Linked DNA regions of Homo sapiens: all the other regions are linked to region 2. The links are contacts of gene promoters, found by promoter capture Hi-C in blood cells and fetal thymus (Javierre and others, 2016). All regions are on one chromosome and are shown on one strand. Each heading gives the region's core, a stretch centred on a gene start or on the middle of the fragment in contact. The rest is flanking DNA. Distances are from core to core; before and after follow the strand shown. Region 1 has its middle 18 kb from the start of LINC02539. Region 2 holds the start of IFNGR1 (interferon gamma receptor 1). Region 3 has its middle 51 kb from the start of TNFAIP3. Region 4 overlaps LINC02539 (long intergenic non-protein coding RNA 2539).

What was found. Contacts are between HindIII fragments. The CHiCAGO score rates a contact against its expected background, and 5 or more counts as called.
Region 1: a fragment that was not itself captured here is called in contact with the fragment with the promoter of IFNGR1 in region 2 in 1 of 17 cell types (monocytes); the score reaches 5.8 in monocytes.
Region 3: a contact is called between a fragment that was not itself captured here and the fragment with the promoter of IFNGR1 in region 2, in 1 of 17 cell types (monocytes). The highest score is 5.4, in monocytes.
Region 4: a fragment that was not itself captured here is called in contact with the fragment with the promoter of IFNGR1 in region 2 in 2 of 17 cell types (fetal thymus and M1 macrophages); the score reaches 5.9 in fetal thymus.

Annotation. Positions count from the first base shown.
Region 1 is chr6:137,755,452-137,758,237 of GRCh38, reverse strand. No RefSeq gene overlaps it. Among named protein-coding and RNA genes, the nearest start is that of LINC02539, 18 kb to the right of the region's middle. The HindIII fragment of the contact is 721 bases long and covers 898-1,618 here.
Region 2 is chr6:137,217,907-137,220,814 of GRCh38, reverse strand. It overlaps IFNGR1 (interferon gamma receptor 1), which reads left to right and starts at 1,430. Exons shown (of 7, transcript NM_000416.3): 1 at 1,430-1,572. The coding sequence starts at 1,488. RefSeq lists enhancers at 960-1,209, 1,060-1,790 and silencers at 1,250-1,479, 1,520-1,739, 2,200-2,249. The HindIII fragment of the contact is 10,215 bases long and covers 1-2,908 here.
Region 3 is chr6:137,814,993-137,817,928 of GRCh38, reverse strand. No RefSeq gene overlaps it. Among named protein-coding and RNA genes, the nearest start is that of TNFAIP3, 51 kb to the left of the region's middle. RefSeq lists enhancers at 1,665-1,754, 2,085-2,134. The HindIII fragment of the contact is 7,180 bases long and covers 1-2,936 here.
Region 4 is chr6:137,732,950-137,736,087 of GRCh38, reverse strand. The region is part of intron 1 of LINC02539 (long intergenic non-protein coding RNA 2539); the gene reads left to right. Among named protein-coding and RNA genes, the nearest start is that of LINC02539, 4.5 kb to the left of the region's middle. The HindIII fragment of the contact is 212 bases long and covers 1,332-1,543 here.

The DNA.
Region 1 (2,786 bases), core at 9-2,508, 540 kb before region 2:
AAAACTCAGCAAGTGTCCTTTCCACAGTTTATTCAGTGTCACATTTTTTTTGCATTTTTTTTCCTGTGGATGATTTCACTATTTAAAATGGACCCTGAGCATAGTGCTGAAGTACTGCCTAGTGATCCTAAGCTCAAAAAGGCTGTGATGTGCCTAACAGAAAATATCTGTGTTAGAGAAGCTTAGTTCAGGCATGAGTTATAGTATAGTTTGCCATGAGTTCAATATTAATGAGTGAAAAATATATATTAAATAAGGTGACTTTAAATAGAAACACACATGAAACAAGATTTTTTATATATATATATGTTCATTGACAGAAATGTTGTGACCAGAGGCTCGCAAGAACCTAACCCTGTATTTCTCCTGGGAGCAATGGCTCAGTATTTGCTAATGTAGTGTTCATAGAGACTGTATAGAATGTGACTACTGCAGATAATAAGGATCAGCTGTATGTGTTTGCAGAACCATGTGAAAGTAAGTTACAGTCTTTGTAACAACTCACCCCTACATCTTCAGCTATCTCTGTTATCAATGTTAATTTTCAGTGATGTTTATTTTTACTGATGGGCACAATATAATAAACTAGGCAGAGAATTACATTTAGATTTAGACACAACTGTGAATAAACCCATGTTCTACCTCTGAGCAAATAATAATCTAGTTGATCTTTAGTTTTCTTACCTCTAAAACAAAAAAAAACACCTGAATTTGTTTTGGTGGTTAAAATGAGATCATGCATAAGCCTGGCCTACAGGAGATATTTAATGAATAGTAAATATCACCGTAATTGACACTCAACAATAGTCGATTTCTCAAGATAGGTCTAATTGGGTATTAAGAGTAGAAGCAGGTAATCTCTCTAGTCATTTCTCCATGCTCATTTCAATGGAAGCTTCGGTATGTGGCATTTGGACTTCTCACCTGATACCACATCTCTGAGATCTTCAGAACAGGTTAGCCTGAGCACCCTACCAGAGCAGAATAGAGGAATCCAACCAAAATCAGTTTATTATAATTAATGCAGGCCATCTTGGACATCACTAGAATATTAAGAAAAATACTGCTCTGAGGGCACCTTTCTCCCTTTTTTCCACCCCAAAGGAAGGATTTTAACTATACCCATCAGAAGCTATGAATCAGTGACACAGAATTTTATCTAGCATCAATGATTGTGTTTTATAAGAATTTTGTTTTAGCTGGGTGTGGTGGTGCATGCCTATAGTTCCAGCTATCTGGGAGGCTGAGTCAAGAGGATCGCTTGAGCCCAGGAGGTTGAGGTTGCAGTGAGGTACGATGGAGCCACGGCACTCCAGCCTGTGTGACAGAGCAAGACTTAGTCAAAAAAAAAAAAAAAAAAAAAAAAAAACCCAACAAAGAAACAAAGAAGGAATTTTGTTGATATAAAAACTATGTTTCTGATACTGCAACTGAATCATTTCTTGCTTCTATCAGATTTTGATGCCCACAGAGAAATTAAGTTTTTTTTGTTTTTTCTTTAACTGAATCAACTTTTGTGTGTTGATAGAGGTAACTTAAGAGTTATTTAAATAAAAGTTTTTGAGAATACTTAATTCCATAAAAAATAGTGAATATCACTTTCTAATAGTGTCAAGCTTTTTCTTTTCGATTTGGTAAAACTGAATTGGATATTTTGTATAATGTAAGTTTACATTACACTTTATATAAATACAATTTTCTTTTTTTTTTTCTTTTCTTTTTTTTTTTCGTTTTGGAGACAGAGTCTTGCTCTGTCGCCAGGCTGGAGTACAGTGGTGCAATCTCAGCTCACTGCAACCTCTGCCTCCCGGGTTCAAGCGATTCGCCCGCCTCAGTCTCCTGAGTAGCTGGGACTACAAGCGCACACCACCACGCCTGGCTAATTTTTTGTATTTTAGTAAAGACGGGGTTTCACCTTGTTGGTCAAGATGGTCTCGATCTCCTGACTTCATGATCTGCCCACCTCAGTTTCCCAAAGTTCTGGGATTGAAGGCATTATCTCCCAGGTGTGGTCCTGATTTCCAGTCTGTATGTCTAACTGTCTACTTGGAATGTCCACTTAGATGTCTGACCATCTTTACCCCATCAATCCCAAACCATCTCTCCACTGCTCTTCCTTATCTTAGCAAATGACATTGCCTTACCTATCAGCCTATGGCTCAGGTCTAACATCTGGGAATCATCTCTGATCTCTTTCTTCCCTCATATCTAATTCTTTGGGAAGTCCTGTCCTCTCTGCCTCCAAAATATATCCCCAATCCAACCACATCTCACCTGCTCCATCGCTGAGGATCACCTGAGCAACCTTTCACCTGAATGACTCCCACAGTGTCCTACCTGGTCTGCCTGCTTCCAGCCTTTCTCCACCCGTGAGAACTCACCTTCATTCTTCATACAGCACACAGAATAGTCTTTCTGAAAATTACATTTCATCATATGACTCTCCTGCTTAAAACCCTCCCATCATTTCCCATTGTAATTAAAATAAAATCTAAGCTCAATTTGGGCCTTCAAGGGCTTACTTGAATTGACTCCACCAATACCTAGGACCTAGCCTATACCCTCCTCTGCCACTCATAACATGCCACTTATAACACTTCTTTCGTGTCCCTCATTGGCTTTTCTTTGTCTCTGGAAACGTTAAATTTGTTCTGGTCCCAAGGCCTTTGCTGTTTGCCACTCCCTCTGGCTGGAGTCCTTGTTCACAAGATCTTAACCCACTCTGACTTCCTTTCCATCAATCAGCACTCAGACAAAATGTCATCTCCTAAGAGAGGCCTTCTGAG
Region 2 (2,908 bases), core at 181-2,680:
AGAGTTTACTGCCAGGGTAACCCAGCCTGTGACAAGTACCACAAAAATGTTTACAAACTGGATATCATATTTTGTCCTACTCCATAGACGCCTAAACGGTAAAGATCAGTTATTTATCCTTGCATCCTTACAACGACTAGAAGGTGTCTTTCATATAGTGGACATCAGAAACACATCAAAGGAAATATTCTCCCTAAACTTAGTCTAGATTGAGCTAAATTCTTCTGATTCAAAGTGTGGTCCTGTTGAAAGGGGCACCAGCATCCCCTGTGCATTTTGTCCGAAATACAAAATCTCAAGACCCAACCTGAATTAGAACTACTGAATCCAAATCTGCATTTTATCAAGATCCCCAGATGGTTCACATGTATGTTGAAGTTTGAGAAGTACTGAGCTAAGAGATTTATTAATACAAGTAAAATGATCTGGCTGATAATACCTCTAGTTTATATAGTGTCTTTATAAGGATTTTCCCTCTTTAAAAATTTTCCTTAACACTAGTAATCATGCAGTCTTTCACTCAACAAATACTAATTGAGTGCCAAGTAAAGATGTCAGCTCTACGGAGCTTACATTTTAGAAGGAGAAGAAAACAAATATCAAGGTGTATATTATAGTGTACAGCAAGGTGAAAAGTGCCATGAAAAAACAGTAGGGCGGGGTAAGGAGGAGGAGAAGGTGTGTTGCAATTTAAAATTTTTAACAAAAGTTCATGATACTCAGAGAATTGAAACAGGTGAGATCATTAGACATTCGCATGTTTGAGCACAAGCGCTGAAGGACTTAGCAATGTGGCTGCAGTGGAATAGGAGAGATGCAAAATAACAGACAAACCCAGAGAGGTAAGAGAGCAGACCTCTTCATGAGAGGCTGCCTGATAAACTGATTTGACACTGAATTGCTGAGAAGGTAATGCAAATAGTTTTTTTCTCCAAGAACAAAGTAGTTCTTGGTCAAGCCGATTTGATTTGGGCTGTGGGAATCTGCACAAACCATTTCACTAGCTAAGTCTCAGGTTCCTCAAATGAAAAAGCAGGGACTGGAAATGGCTTTTGAAGTCTCATTCTCTTCTAAAAATGTCAGGCTCCAAGACAACCAGGTGAAGTCCAAGAGTTAGTAAAATAAGGATTGTGGCTCGGCTGTGGCCTAATGCAAACTTGCACAACCCCAGGAAACCGAAAAAAACTGGAAGAAGAATTGCAGAATGGGGTGCCAGGTTGAAAGACCTTAACCTTTGCACTCAAATTCCTCCCACACCCAGAAGTCCAGGTCCCGACCGCACGACGCCGTGCTCACTGCTGGGTGCTGCGCCTGAGTCCGCCTCCTGCGGCTTCCCGGACTTGACCCCGCCCACGCCCTGGTCCCGCCTCCTGCCGACGCCGGCACAGACCCCGGTGACGGAAGTGACGTAAGGCCGGGGCTGGAGGGCAGTGCTGGGCTGGTCCCGCAGGCGCTCGGGGTTGGAGCCAGCGACCGTCGGTAGCAGCATGGCTCTCCTCTTTCTCCTACCCCTTGTCATGCAGGGTGTGAGCAGGGCTGAGATGGGCACCGCGGATCTGGGGCCGTCCTCAGGTACCGTCGTTCGCGGCAGGGCTGCGGCCGGGTCGGGACGAGAGGGAGGGAGGGATCCGCCCCAGCCGGGAAGCCCCGCCCCGCTTCTCCGAGGTCGCCCTAGCCCGGGACCCCTGCGTCGGGCCCTGAGCGGGCGACGGGGACGCGAGGTGGGGTCGCGAGACTGGGGCTCCGTGGTTTGAACTCGTCGGTTGCCTTTCTCCTGCCTCTTCCCTGGTTGCCGCCACAACAAATCACGCCGCTTGTTTTTCCGACTCTTGTAATCCACTTTTAAATACGATTATGCGCTGCAGAAGGACGTTGCTGGTCAATGTGGGACAGCGTGGTCTCAAAGATTATAATATCGTCTTCTTACTGTACCTTTTTTTATGGTTAGATACGCAGATACTCACTAGTATGCTACGGTTGCCTGCAGTGTTCAGTGCAGTGACAGGCTGTACAGGTTCATGACCTAAGAGCAGTAGGCTGTGTCATCTGGGTTTGTCTGGGTTTCTACTGCCCGAAGAAATTGCCTAAGGGGACATTTCTCCATTTCTCAGAACGGATCTCCATCGTTAAGTGACGCATGACTGTGAGTGTCCTGATCAGCATGTGGCATCGTGGTCTCAGTTCGTGGCTTAAATACTTCTTTCTTAGCGGGGGTGGGGGGGGGGACTCAAAGTGCTTAGGGTAGGAAAGTATGCATTATGTCGCCAGCTGAGAAGTAAGTGGCAGCTGAGAAGTAAGTGGCAGTCCGTCTTAGGTCTCAGTCTGGAAGTGGTGGATTGCCGGCACTCACTAGCAGATTTGGCAGTAGGTCTCTTCGTACGGGTTTGTTCTTCGGAGCATTTTATTTCCACCTGCTTATTGACATTTCCTAGAAAACAAATGTTGAGGGTGGCTTTTCTGAAGTGCAGAGTAATTGTGATTACGAGCTCCAGAGAAAACAGTAAACCTTTTCAATTCAGTTTTCTTTTTTTTATTATGATTTATGATTCATAGGGACTTTGAAAGGTCCACGTTTTGGTTCTGTGTTCACAACAATCTTCTGGAGTAGGCGTTATTTGTCTCTCTCTTTATGGACGAGAAATTGAGTTACGGAGAGGCCTGCCCAACTGGCAGAGAGGTCATAGCCACTCAGTGGGGAGCTGCTCAATTTGGCTCCAGAGTCCAAGTTCTTAACTGCTCTTCTAGGCTCTAGTCAGTCATCCACATGGGCAGTTGCAGTACTTTGCGGTAAGAGCTTGCACTTAGGCACAGACTAGTGGAAAGCAAGGCGGGGTGCTTGTCTCTTTTAGGGAAGTCAGTGAAGACTTCACAAAGGTGACCCCAGTGTTGGAACCAGAGGTGCAGAGAC
Region 3 (2,936 bases), core at 9-2,508, 600 kb before region 2:
AAAAAAAAAAAAAAAAAAGAAAGGAAAAGTTTACCATTACAAGCAAGCAAACAGAATTTGGAAAATCCCCTCCCAATTCTACCTAGTTTATGTCACTAGAGATGAGGTTAGACTCAGTTTAGGAGGCTAGACTGAGTTAATATTCTTTGTGGGACAAATTTGAGATTTCCTAAGCGTGGGAGGAATCTCCTAAGAGAATTCAGGAGAGAGCAACCAAACAAGATGCTGACCTTAAGAATCAAGAGATTGTTGCCTCTTCACTTTTCCTGTGGATATAACTTACCAGAGTTTACTTGGTGGGTACACCAGACACTGCTTCTTCTTCATCTCCAGGGATTTATTGTCCCAGTTAGGCAGCCACGTAGAGAGGCTGTGAGTTGCAGCCCGTGGCCAGGAACACAGGCGTTTCCCCAGGCGGCTCCTGCCAAAGTGGAGATTGTCCCCTAGAGAGGCCCACTCTGATAACTGGTTCCTCTCCATGCCCTTCCCCATCCCTGTATTACTAACCCAGTGCTCACCCCCTGGTGGAATACTGTTTAATTTGGCCATCCGTCATTCTATAATGCAGGGAATGGGTTGCTACCGGTAGGTCCTGGGAAGTGGTGCAGTTTCCTGGGTTATGCATGAAGTTGGCCTATCTGCCAGAGAGGGTAATTCCATCCCCAAGATCTTAGGCTCCTTTCTTCTTCTCAGCATAAAGGAAGCACTCTCATTTTCTAATACCTCAGCCTAAGAAAGTAATAGAGGTGATCATTATTTTCATGACCACAGCTGGCTCCTCAGAACAGTATTGTTCCTTTGGAGCAGCATTAATTAATCAGCCATGACACTCTCTGAGGATGAAATATGACCACCTTTCCATGCATGCTCTAGGCCCTGCCTGCTTTGCCAACTCCATTTCTCTCCCATTTCCCTCCCCGTTTTCCTTTCCATTTCAGTCACACTGGTCTTTAAGTTGCTAAAATAATCCAAAGTCTTTTCTTCCTTAGGGTCTGAAACTGCTCGGATTCAAATTCTGCCTTCACCACTTAGTAGCTGTGTGACAAGGGCAAGTTACTTAACCCTTCTGTGCTTCATCTTATACCTCTGTTAAGCAGGGTTAACAGTAGTTCCTACATAGGGTTGTGTTAGGATTAAAGAATATAACATGTGTAAAGTTCTTAGAATGTTACTGGGTCATAGTAATGTCTCAAAATATTAACTCCTCCTCCTCTTTGTACCACCCCCATCCTCCCCAATAAATTTCTTCTAAAAACCCCTCCCCTCCCTTTTTCCAAGTCTGGATTTCTAATATGTCCTATTAATAGTTATTATTATAAACTGTCATGAGCTTGGAGACCTTTTCTGACCCTCTGATCGAAAGTAGCTCCTTTGTTATTTTCTCTCACACCTCTCTGCCTGTTTCCTTCATAGCACTTATCTCAATTTGTGGTTGTGTATTTATTTGCTTTTATTTCTTGGTCATCATCTTTCTCCATGACTAGGCTGAAAATTTCATGGTCAGAGTCCTTGGCGGTTTCACTCATCCCTGTGCACGTTGTAGGCATCTACACAGAGCAGGCAATCAGTACATATTTAAGAATGAAAGCCTACCTCCTCTGAGCAGTCAGCAGCCTACAAAGGGAAACTGAAATTCTGAATTCGAACTCTGTAATATACTGGAGCAGAAGCCACATTGCTGGGCATCAGTGCTGGGTGTCCTCATTGTGGTTGGCATGAGGGGGTAGGGGAAGGAAGCGCTCCTCCTACTTAAAAGAGAATGCCGTGTCACTTGGACATCTGCAGCTTTCCTGAGCCTCAGCTGTGGAAGTACATGGAAGGGGCAAACAGGAGACACTGCTGGCCAGCCAGTGGCCAGGAGAAGCCATGGGCCAGCTTAGAGGAGGGATGTTATGCAGCAGTACCTGGGAGACACCTTGTAGGGACCTCAAGAAATATTTGAAAGATACCTTACAGGGTATTAAAGGTCCACCATCCCCAGGCTATGGAAAAAACCAGGGAAATTTGAGTTGGGGTGGTTCCTGTTATCTGTACAGTCTGGTAAGGCCAGGGGAAACTTGAATGACAGTATTCATACTATCATGGCCAGGACTCAACCCCGTGCACAGAGTTGACAGAGAGAAATATTCCAGTGAAGGCCCATACCAGTCACTGGGGAAGAAAGAACAGTTATCAATACTCCCATATCACTACCTGTGCAGCCTCCACCAGAGGCTTTGACCTTAACAGGCTGCAGGGAGTATTGGTGGGGAAAATGAATCATTTTCTTTCTTTTTTTTTTTTTTTGAGACGGAGTCTCGCTTTGTCGCCCAGGCTGGAGTGCAGTGGCGCGATCTCGGCTCACTGCAAGCTCCGCCTCCCGGGTTCACGCCATTCTCCTGCCTCAGCCTCCCGAGTAGCTGGGACTACAGGCGCTCGCCCCCATGCCCGGCTAATTTTTTGTATTTTTAGTAGAGACAGGTTTCACTGTGTTAGCCAGGATGGCCTCGATCTCCTGACCTCGTGATCTGCCCGCCTCGGCCTCCCAAAGTGCTGGGATTATGGGCGTGAGCCACCGCCCCCGGCCCGCTCTAATTAGTTTTGAGATTTCCAGCCTCCTCTAGGTGATGGCTGCTTGAGGCTGATTTTTATACTGGGTTTTAGAAATGATTCTCTACCAGTAACCAAAACAGCATGGTACTGGTACCAAAACAGAGATATAGATCAATGGAACAGAACAGAGCCCTCAGAAATAATGCCGCATATCTACAACCATCTGATCTTTGACAAACCTGACAAAAACAAGAAATGGGGAAATGATTCCCTATTTAATAAATGGTGCTGAGAAAACTGGCTAGCCATATGTAGAAAGCTGAAACTGGATCCCTTCCTTACACCTTATACAAAAATTAATTCAAGATGGATTAAAGACTTAAATGTTAGACCTAAAACCATAA
Region 4 (3,138 bases), core at 188-2,687, 520 kb before region 2:
CTCCATGAGTCCAGGGACAGTATCTTATTAGGCATTGGCCTCTGCAGCACTTAATCCAGCGCCTGGGACTTCAGAAGAAATTCGTAAGTGAATGAATGAGTGAATATTGAACGTGTAACTATCAAAGGGAATTCACGGGAACTTTTGTTTCTCATTGGACTGGAAAGGATTCTTCTTAGTGCTCAAGCATCTCTTTTGTTGGCCATTGAAACTGCATTAGGAAGACATTGTATTAACTGAGGCATAGCCAGAGGAACAGATCCAGAGAAGAGACATTGCCATGAGTCAAACCTAGGTACTTTTTTAGACAACAAAGGGTAACACCAGAGTTAGTAGTAAGGTAGACTAGACAGACTACCTTATTACAAAAGCATAAAATGAAGACATAATTGTTAGTTGTGAGCATGTTGCTTTAGAATATAAGTGAAAATGTTGGCAAATTGTATTTATATTGGATAAGATCCTCAGACTATTTTCCCAAATATATTGTCACATTTTCATGACTCAATATAGCATATCCGTGGGGTTGACTCAGGAGTATCATGATGTGGTAGAAAGATTCTTACCTCAATATGTACCTCCACCACTATCTTGTGGGTGGTTTTTGAATGAAGCATTTAAGTGCTCTGGGCTTAATTTTTGTTATAGAAAACAAATAGAATAGGTGAAGTGGTGCCTCGGCCTTTCAAAGTGCTGAGATTACAGGTGCAAGCCACTGCGCCGGGCCAAAATATTAATATTAGTTAGAAATTAATTAGATACTGTATATCACAATGATGTTCTCATCACGATTTGCTGAAAAACAGTTTGTAAGGGCTGATAGGAGGGGACTACTTCTCTCTCCAGCCGTGAGAACCCCAGAAGCCTTTATTTACAACCCTGGAGGGAAAAGTGATAAACCCATCACAAGGAGGAAGTAGGGAAGAGAGCTGGAGGGGGAAAGCAGTCATTCATATTTGATTTCTTCCACGTAATTGTTCCTCTACCATGACCCATAGAGCCAGGAGGAAGTGTGGAGGAGACAGAGATGAGTTACCAATGTATTTGAACAAACTGAAATGCACAGTTCCCTGTCCTTTCTGTCTCCCGTTATTACCCCAGTGTTCCCAATTGTGCAACAGCGTGACCTTACATCAGACAGAAAAAAGAGGGAGTTTGGCAATAACGTGAGAAAAGCTTCTGATGCAAACATAATTCCTTTTGCTTTACAGAAACATATAAATTATGTACAAAAATTATTTATGCTCTAACTTGAGCATTCAGTTCCATTGATACACAGTATATGCTACCAACGTCTGCTAAAAAATAAGATTTTGCAGGCTTTCTAAGCTTGTTTAATAATGAGGAAGATGGTAAGGCTTGGCTTTTCCCTGTAAGAATGCTGAAACAGGTTCGGATAAAAAACAAACCAACACAAATCAAACAACTTTCTCTTTCCTCTGTGTTTCTCCTCTTCCACAGCTTTGGATTCTTCCAGAATACTTGTTACCTCAGATTAGGGTGGGATGCCTTTGAGATAGCCCCACACGGGGTAAACTAAGCTTTTGATGGTTTTATATAGCAGGCCCTGGGCTAGCTGTTTGCATGCATGATCTCATGATTGCCATGCAAATATTTATATGCGATGAAGTCTCCTTGATTGGAGCCATACTCTTATCTTCTTGTCCATCTCTCCCTAATTATGATGTGTCATGGGAATTTTGCAACTAATTCAGAATTTTTTTCAGAGGGAACCTGGGTTCTGCATATGCTCTTTGTGGATAAATTCTCCCTGAAATTCCAGAAAGTCCAAAATTGAATTGCCTGGTATATGGTTGCCTTGGCATATGATCTGTGAACAAACTGGTTTTATCTGGTGTGTTGTTTAGAGTGTCAATGAGGTTGTATAGTAGGTAGCAGATGTAGGAAGAAGGCAATTTGATGAATGGCAGCTATAAAATGAAACAAGGAAGGAACATCACTAAATTTGTGTTCAACTTACTTCTGCCATTTGAGGGGCCCTAGGTTGGAAGTGACAACAAACTGATAGGGTCAAGGAAATGGATTGCTAAGTTTAGAAGTGTCGGCCGGGCACAGTGGCTCATGCCTGTAATCCAAGCACTTTGGGAGGCCAAGGCGGGCGGATCATGAGGTCAGGAGATCGAGACCATCCTGGCTAACACGGTGAAACCCCGTCTCTACTAAAAATACAAAAAATTAGCCGGGCGAGGTGATGGGCGCCTGTAGTCCCAGCTACTCGGGAGGCTGAGGCAGGAGAATGGCGTGATCCTGGGAGGCAGAGTTTCCAGTGAGCCGAGATCGTGCCACTGCACTCCAGCCTCGGTGACAGAGCAAGACTCCATCTCAAAAAAAAAAAAAAAAGTGTCAAGGTTGACTAGAGTTCTTTCTGAATAAAAAAAGCTTTACCACACCATCAGCATTGACTGAAAGTGGAAAAGAGACAGAATTGGACAAGTGCCCAGAGAAAAATGGATTTTGTACATACTTTACAAGCTAATATAGACCATTCCTTGCAAAACCCCTCCTTTGAGAAGAATCACACATGCTCCTCCATCCCCCTGATTTGATTTATTTGTATTGTCTTAACAATTTCTCTTTCTTTCTTCCTTTCTTGCTCGCTCATTTGCTTGCTTGCTTGCTTTCTTCCCTTCTTTTTCTTCTTTTTCTTTCTTTTCTTTTCTTTTTTTTTTTTTTTTTTTTTTTGACTGGGTCTCACTCACTCTGTCGCCCAGGCTGGAGTGCAGTGGTGTGATCTCAGCTCACTGCAACTTCCGCTTCCTGGGTTCAAGCAATTCTCTTGCCTCAGCCTCCAGAGTAGCTGGGACTACAGGCACGTAACACCAAGCCTGGCTAATTTTTGTAGTTTTAGTAGAGACAGGGTTTCACCATCTTGGCCAGGCTGGTCTCGAACTCCTGACCTCAGGTGATCTGCCGGCCTTGGCCTCCCAAAGTGCTGGGATTACAGGTGTGAACCACCGTGCCCAGCCTTGTTTAACAATTTCATGATGCATGTTATTTCTTATTACAATGTGTTCCCCGCCCCTTTATTTCTCTTGCGGAGTCCAATATGAAGAATTGAAAAGAAATGTGATATCTCAACTTTTCATTAAGTCTCAATCCTAATGCCCTGTTTTTTGT